Linked DNA regions of Homo sapiens: all the other regions are linked to region 2. Evidence: promoter capture Hi-C in 16 types of primary human blood cells and fetal thymus (Javierre and others, 2016). All regions are on one chromosome and are shown on one strand. Each heading gives the region's core, a stretch centred on a gene start or on the middle of the fragment in contact. The rest is flanking DNA. Distances are from core to core; before and after follow the strand shown. Region 1 holds the start of NR1I2 (nuclear receptor subfamily 1 group I member 2). Region 2 holds the start of B4GALT4 (beta-1,4-galactosyltransferase 4). Region 3 overlaps GSK3B-DT (GSK3B divergent transcript).

Region 1 (2,700 bases), core at 119-2,618, 540 kb before region 2:
CTTTCGCAATTGGTCAATTTTGCTGACTCAATGAATCAGCTATAGCAGGCACTATTCCTCTCCCACATGGCCTCTAATGATATGGCCAGAGTTGAAAGGATGTTGTAGGGCAAAAACAGCCATATACAATACATAACGAATGGGCATGGCTGTGTTCCAATAAAGCTTCATTTATAAAAACAGCTGGTGGGCCAGAGTTAGCCTGTGAGCCATAGTTTGTCAACCCCAGGTTTAGACTTTTATGACATAACTAAAATATTTTTAAAGCGTATTTGTGTACCACAAAATACTTTTTCCCATTAACCAACTGATTAAATAAGCCTCTGAGGCCTCCCTTAGCATCCTTTCAACTCTGACCATATCATTAGAGGCCATGTGGGAGAGGAATAGTGCCTGCTATAGCTGATTCATTGAGTCAAGACTCAGTGGCCTCAGAGGTGTCTGTTGACCTGTCCTAGATATGGAGTGGCCTTAAAGCAGTGCCTCTGGCCATAGCTTCAGCCGAGCTGGGCTGTAAAGTGGAGAGAAGAAGGACCTGGTGGCACTGACCACATGCAGGCAAGACTCGGTTCTGTGGGACAAGGTGCCCTTTCAATAGTAGAGGTAGAAAACTCACTGGTTTGAAGCCAACTCAGCCGCAGCACTGTGCAGGGGTATGGCAGGTGCTCTGAGGGACCCCTCCTTGAAGTGGTGAGTCCTGGTGACTGTCATGCTGCTGTCCTTGGCCTCAGGGGGCTGCCAGCACTAACCCAGCAGGCCAAAAGGAATCAGGACTGAGTTGATCCCAGTTCCCATAGTCCCCAGCTCCCACAGTCCTTGGAGGTGGTATTTCCTGGGTCCAGGGACTCCAGCCCTGTAACAGGGAGCTGGTTGTATGTGTGACTTGTGGTAACTCATGCAGTAGTTAAGGCTTCTCCTGTGGTGATTTTTCTAGGAGGCTAGTGCAGGACCAGAGAGCATCAGTAATGGGGCTCAACATTAAGTGATTGTTTTCATGCTTTTTTTTTTCCACCCTAGAAATGAGGAGACAGCAGCAAGGCCAACATGATTCACGACCCACTATGATGCTGACCTCAAACAGAAGGTATATTTGTGTTCACACACATCTTTTGGCTGGAGCTGAAGGGCGGTCAGCCCCCAGCAAAAGAGAAAGAAAGAAAAACCATACCTGCTTGGTGGTAAGTTCTTTGCTCCGACTTCTCCCCTGGGGTCCACTTTGAACAATCCGGTGCAAAGGATCGATCAAGGAGTAGCTTTACCAAGGAGCCGCTGCCTTGTTCAGGACAGGAGTATTAGCTTATTCTCTTGCTTTTCTCACTGTGAACACTTGGCTTGCAGGCTGAGGCCGAGATTCCCACTGAAGTAAAGGCAGTGCTTCCTCTTCCCGTCCTAGTCATAGGTTATGATTTCCCCGGATATGAGACAATCTTGTCTCTCACCTATATTTCAGTCCAAGTCAGATGTAGGCACTAAGCGGCTCCATTGCCCCTCCTAAGTCCCAAGTCCAGCACTTGAACTAGCAAATGAAGAGATTACCGTATTTGTTCTCATTATGTTCTCCCTACTTTTTTCTTTCAGGTCTCTTCACTACAAAAACACAGGAAAAGGGGAAGAGAGTGGCAAATATCCGCTTTGTCTAAGTAATTCTGAGTGCATTTCATCAGTCTGAGGGTCTCTGTCCTTTACCACTAGGGGCAACATTAATTTGAACCTAGATCTCCTTATACTTCCTCCTTTGTTGAAACCACCTCCCTGGATAGTGTTACTTGATGTGAAAGTGAGCAAAGTATTGATTTATGACGGTGCCAATCACCAGCATGGTTATGTAAGAGGGGGGCAGGCACACAGGGAGAGGGAAAGGGTGTGAGATGAGGGGGCTGAGCACAGTTCTCGAGAATGTGACCCCACCACTTTGATCTCAGAACAGAAGGCTGACCAGGAGTGGGGAGGATGGACCAGCTGAGGGCTCTTTCCTCTCCCGGGTCCTGCCAGAGGGGAGCTGAAGAGTCCTCACTCTTCAGCCTCAACCTTCTTATTCCCTAGCAGCAGGTGCTCCCAAGTGAACAGAATCAACAAAAGCCGAATGTGGTGGATACCAGGATGTGTTTCTTCTACTTGCTTTGTTTATAAAGATGCTTTATGGCAGGTGAGGGGAGTGGAAGTAACTGCTCCTACCTAAAAGGCAAACAAGTACAAGCCTCTGGCAACAGTAAAGCAGGGGCATGGGCCCCAACAAGAGAGGGAGAGGGAGACCACGATTGAGCAAACAGGTAGAAAAGAGAACCTGGGATTGCCAAAAAATGACCACAGTTGTCTTCAGGTGAACATTTGGACTTCCTTACATTTATTTATTGACTTAAGTTGTTATTATTTTGAAGTACATGCTTTAATCCAGCCCTGGTGAGAAAAGCCAGAATATCTAAGTATGATTTGTTTGTTTTGTTTTTAATTGGTTTCTTCTCTATCCAATTTGCACTTCCCAAGGGATGAGAAAGACTTGAGGCTGGGATTTCCTAGGGGTTGACATTTCTCAAGTGGATGCTTGCCTTGCTGTTTTCAACCAAGCGCAGAATGTAAGGTGCTTACACAGCTCACTGCTGGGGACTTACTGCCAGCAGTGGGGACTGGGACCCACAGCCATAGAGCTCTGTCCTTTTTCCAGTCACATTTCTGATTATCCACATGGGATTCTGCTAGGGC
Region 2 (2,700 bases), core at 201-2,700:
GAGGTGGAGGTTGTAGCGATCCGAGATCAAGCCACTGCACTCCAGCCTGGGCAACATTGAGCACTGAGTGAGCGAGACTCCGTCTGCAATCCCGGCACCTCGGGAGGCCGAGGCTGGCAGACCACTCGCGGTCAGGAGCTGGAGACCAGCCCGGCCAACTCGGCGAAACCCCGTCTCCACCAAAAAATACGAAAACCAGTCAGGTGTGGCGGTGCGCGCCTGCAATCCCAGGCACTCGGCAGGCTGAGGCAGGGGAATCAGGCAGGGAGGCTGCCGTGAGCCGAGATGGCGGCAGTACAGTCCAGCCTCGGCTCGGCATCAGAGGGAGACCATGCAAAGGGGAGACGAGGACCGTGCAAAGGGGGGAGGGAGATGGGGAGGGAGACAGAGAGGGGGAGGGGGAGGGGAAAAGCTGAGTGATTCTTGCAAAAGGTATATATTATGCTTCCAGGCATCATATGCTCAAGACCTGGGGACTATGTGGGTATAAGTAACTGATTGTATAACGCCACTGGATGAAATCCAGTAATGTCCTTTTTCACTAAATGTGGTTATACACCCTTACAGCATGTTACAAAGGGAACACAAAAAAATAAGTTTCACACTGGACCTTGTTCAGGAGCAGTGTTGACCTATTTCACTGACCTATCCTCAACTGCCACTAGGTGGCCCTCTTTTCCAGCTTCCAAGGGCCTACATTGGGCCTATGCGGCCTCAGTATAGCCTCAGATTTCCTGCTATGAAGCTTAATGAGCCCAGCACTGGCTCTAGCTATGGTTTGTTCCTTTTTGGGTGGAGTGGATGTGTGGTTCTTGGAGAATCTACTACTTTCCCGTGAGTGCAGTGGGAGACTGCATTAGAGAATCTAGCTATCCTGACTGCCTAAACAGAGCCTACCATAATTTTTCACTCAAATCTTTAGTGTAAATATAATTGTCTTTGCTTTCTGTAATAATATCTTTGAAGAAATACGGATTTAAAAAAATCATTTAATATTCTCAGACCTGCAACATGGGAAAAATATTATTATTATTATTATCATTTTTGCAGTTGAGAGGGCTGAAATCTCGCAGGGTGATTAAGTTTATTAGCCTCTCTAAAGTCTCAGTTTCCCACTCTGTAAAATGGAAGGGTCCCTATCTCTTTCCTACTGCTTTGTGAGTATTTAAGGGGATGGAATTTGGGAAGCGCTCAGCACCCAGTCTACTATTGGCACAGGGTTTTAAAGCCACCCAGAGGCCGAGGCGTCAACCCTCCGTTTCCCTCCCGGTGCTCCTTCCAGCGCCCGGTGTGGTCGATTTGGCGGGGGTGGAGCGCCAGGCGCGTGCAGAGCCGGGCGGACCAGCCTCTCCGGCCAAGGCGGGAGGCGGAGCTCGTACTCAAGAGCCGCCTCCCGGGCGGCTGGGGCGGTCCCCGAGCTGCTTTCCGCGTTCTCCCCTCTCCGCGGGCAGTGCTAGCTCGCCGCGGCCGCCTCCGGGGTGAGTACGCTGGCTCCGCCGGCGCCCGGGAAATGCAGTTCCCTGGACACGGGCGCCGTGCGAGGGTAGCCGGGCGACGGCCGGGGTCAGTCCCAGGGCTGTAGCGGGGCGGGCGTGGGGATGACGTGGCGGCGTCCGTGGGGCAGTCCCGCCTCAGCCGGAGCGGTGGGCCGGGCCGGGGGCCTACGGAGGCCGAGCCTGGCGGGAGGCACCGGCTCAGGTGCTGGCGTTCCGCGCGGCGCCGCCTCTGCTGCGGGCCGGGGGAGCCAGACGAGGTGCTGCCGGGTAGGAAAAAATCCAGGGCTCATTCATACCCCAGGTCACGATTCCGGGGTCGCCCCCAGCACTTCTCCGCCGGGTGCATCAACCTGAAAAAGCCCCTTCTTCCTGGAAACCCTCCTTCTCCAGCGTTTCAACGGGGAAACTGATCAGCTGACACCAGCCCCAGTCCTGCGAGGGGCCGGCGACCTTTGACCTTTCTCCAAAGGGGTTGGTCACCTGGATTATAAAAGACTTCGGAGACAGCCATCCAGTGTTTGTTGATCTGTATCCCTTGATGTTCTGTCTTCCATTAGATAAGGGCTGTTAATTCTTGGTTTGAAAAAAAACAGACAAAGTCCAAAGGACTCTGCATCGAGGAGAGGCCTATGGGTTGGTAGCCTTAGGAGAGTAGTTATCAACAGTGGGTGGGTGTGCACACTGTTGCAAAGTGTTCCAGAGTGGGTGAGGGATGGGGACGTGGCGGTGGTGAGGGTACTGGTAGACCTCCTCAGCCGTTTGGTGATGAAAAGGAGGAAAAAGAAAATGGTAATCTGAGCGTGGAGGCGAGTTGTGGCTTTTTTTTTTTTTTTTAAATTTTTAAAGAAAGGAAAATAACACCTTTAAGATGCAAGAAAATCAAGGAGAGATCAGGATGAATAGGATTCAGGGTCCGGATTGAGAAACTGGGATTCAGAAGGGAGGGCTATTCCCGAGACCCAGGCGGGGAGTGCTGGAAGGTCTCTCTTGGGAGAGGAGATAATGCTTGATTGGATATAGTTCAGAAGTTTTTGGAATTTTGTCTTCTAGAGCAGGTTTGTTCTTTATGGAAATTGTAAACCCCATGAAATTGCAATAACTTTCGTCTACCTATAGCTTTGATCAGATTGAAAACATACGTTGTGAAAAAGTACTGACCTGGATTGAACTGTTTGACTACATAATCTAAGGGGAAGTGGATAGA
Region 3 (2,700 bases), core at 172-2,671, 860 kb before region 2:
AGTCCCAGCTACTTGGGAGGCTAAGGCGGGAGGATTGCTTTATCCCTGGAGGTAGGCTGCAGTGAGCCATGATCACACATCTGCACTCCAGCCTGGGTGACAGAGCAACAAATTATCTAAACAATAACAACAACAATAAAAACAAACAAACAGAAAAGAAAAAACAATCAGAGTTGATATTTTCCTAAGACTCCTAACTGGTCCTAAGAGTAGCAAGATTTAGTTAGGGGAATAATGGTTATTTTTCCTAAATTACTACTTTTATCTTCAAGTACTGAACACTACTAGTGCATACACAATATACATTGTAAAAATAAAGAACAACAGCACCAGCCTGGACAACATGGCAAGACCCTGTCTCTACAAAGTAATTAAAATAGCTGGGTGTGGTGGCATGCACTTGTAGCCCCAGCTACTGCGGGGGAAGGGGGCAGTGGCAGGGCATGGCTGAGGCAGGAGGGTTGACCTGAGCCCAGGAGTTTGAGGTTGCAGTGAGCTATGATCACACCACTGCACTCCAGCCTGGGCAGCAGAGCGAGACCCCATCTCTAAAAATAAAAATAAAAAAATAAGACAGCAGAGATAGTAAAACATCTTAAAACTGAGCTATAAACTCTCATAAGGATCCTTTCTGGTTTCATATCTGGCACTTCATACTACTGTCTGATCTAGATGTTACAGAGAAACACATTCCTTGAGGCTTTGTACATTCCTTCCCATTTTCTTTCAAGATTCCATCCTACAGGGCACAGGAATGAAGCATCCTGATACAATTCAAATAAAGTTTTGGCCTGATTAAGGGAGACCAGTCCTCTCTGCATTCTGAAATTCCTTTTTGGATGATCCATAGGAGGTCTTACTTTTTTTTCACTTCCCTGCACCCCTGGCCAAGGATATTCAATATCCAAGAAACCAAATACCAATTTTCTTGTAGCTTTCACATTTCCCATCAACATGACATAGATTAAAGACCAAAAGACTTCTGTTCCATTCTGAGAGATGTGAGTCCCATTTCCATGTGAAGGAAATCTGACCGTTCCCGATTTACAGCTACTGAGGGCCTAAAATATTTGTTCTGAGAATTTCTCAGGCCTATATTTATTACATTTTAATGCACATAAAACAAAGCTGAATTCCTAGAATTTGCTGTAAAGAAGTATACTTCAAGTATTCAATCAACACATACTGTTTTCAATTCATTTATTCAATGTGAAAATATTTACACTCTTGTATAAAAAAGCTCTTTTCAAAAAATGTGAATGGAAATGAGGTAAAATAAATAAAATTGAAGTAGTTCAAAATAATCTAATCGGTAATAATATAGTAAACCACATGATTATACCCTTAGAAGTAAACATGTGACAAGCATGAAAAACTAAAAGGATTTGTTAGAGGCATGTGAACCAGAGCAACTCCATCTTAAACAGGAGCCGGGCAAAATGAGGGTGAAATCTATTGGGCTGCATTCCCAGATGGTCAGTTAAGGCATTCTAAGTCACAGGATGAGATAGGAGGTCAGCACAAAATACAGGTCTTAAAGACCTTGCTGATAAAACAGGTTGCAGTAAAGGAGCTGGCCAAAACCCACCAAAACCAAAATGGCGACGAGAGTGACCTCTGGTCGTCCTCACTGCTACACTCCCACCAGTGCCATGACAGTTTACAAATGTGCCATGACAGTTTAGACCCTATGTGGTCCAAAAAGGGGAGGCATGATTAATCCACTCCTTGGTTAGCATATCATCAAGAAACGACCATAAAGAATGGGCAACCAGGCCAGGTGCGGTGGCTTATGCCTGTAATCCCAGTACTTTGGGAGGCCAAGGCGGGCAGATCAACTGAGGTCGGAAGTTCAAGACCAACCTGACCAACATGGAGAAACCCTCACTCTACTAAAAACACAAAATTAGCCGGGCGTGGTGGCGCATGCCTGTAATCTCAGCTACTCGGGAGGCTGAGGCAGAATTGCTTGAACCTGGGAGGTGGAGGTTGTGGTGAGCCGAGATCACGCCATTGCACTCCAGCCTGGGCAACAAGAACGAAAACTCCATCTCAAAGGAAAAAAAAAAAAGGGCAACCAGCAGCCCTCAGGGCTGCTCTATGTAGTAGCCATTCTGTTATTCCTTCATTTTCTTAATACTTGCTTTGACTTTTGCACTGTGGGGTCACCCTGAATTCTTTCTTGTGTGAGATCCAAGAACCCTCTCCTGGGGTCTGGATCATGACCCGTTTCCTGTAACAGATTCAAGTGTTTTTCTTTTATTTTCTATAGTATACTCCTTTAAGATGTCAAAATCAGAGTATTTATATAATTTGCCAAAGGCTTGATATGCAACTTTTCATACAACCAGTCTATTTCACAGTGACAGTGTTTCAAACACTCTCCCTCTTCTTTTTGGGTAGTCATTCATTAATTTCCCATTTGGGCACACCTCACTGGTTATAAGACACATAACCAACTATGCCACATCTTGTTACTCTGGGCATATTTTCAGCAACAGGAAAAACCACAGTGTATGTTACTTCAGAGGCTTTCCTATAATGGTAATGTCTTACATCTGCTAAAGTACCTCTCCACTGTCTACAGGACAAAGCCCAGTTTTTTTTTTTTTTTTTTCCTGTAACAAAGCTCCCTCAAACCTACCTTTTCAACCTTATCTTCCATTAGTCTTCTCTATCAGCTTTTTGTTCCAGCCAAAC

Evidence for each region. Contacts are between HindIII fragments. The CHiCAGO score rates a contact against its expected background, and 5 or more counts as called.
Region 1: the fragment with the promoter of NR1I2 here is called in contact with the fragment with the promoter of B4GALT4 in region 2 in 10 of 17 cell types (erythroblasts, M0 macrophages, monocytes and 7 more); the score reaches 15.6 in erythroblasts.
Region 3: a fragment that was not itself captured here is called in contact with the fragment with the promoter of B4GALT4 in region 2 in 1 of 17 cell types (total B cells); the score reaches 5.0 in total B cells.

The regions. Positions count from the first base shown.
Region 1 is chr3:119,780,769-119,783,468 of GRCh38, reverse strand. NR1I2 (nuclear receptor subfamily 1 group I member 2) reads right to left here and starts at 1,368. Exons shown (of 9, transcript NM_003889.4): 1 at 1,169-1,368. The HindIII fragment of the contact is 6,406 bases long and covers 168-2,700 here.
Region 2 is chr3:119,239,628-119,242,327 of GRCh38, reverse strand. It overlaps B4GALT4 (beta-1,4-galactosyltransferase 4), which reads left to right and starts at 1,450. Exons shown (of 8, transcript NM_003778.4): 1 at 1,450-1,478. The region is part of intron 3 of B4GALT4-AS1 (B4GALT4 antisense RNA 1); the gene reads right to left. RefSeq lists silencers at 584-633, 1,284-1,763. The HindIII fragment of the contact is 11,429 bases long and covers 748-2,700 here.
Region 3 is chr3:120,098,924-120,101,623 of GRCh38, reverse strand. All of the region lies in intron 1 of GSK3B-DT (GSK3B divergent transcript), which reads right to left. Among named protein-coding and RNA genes, the nearest start is that of GSK3B-DT, 5.2 kb to the right of the region's middle. The HindIII fragment of the contact is 4,151 bases long and covers 1-2,700 here.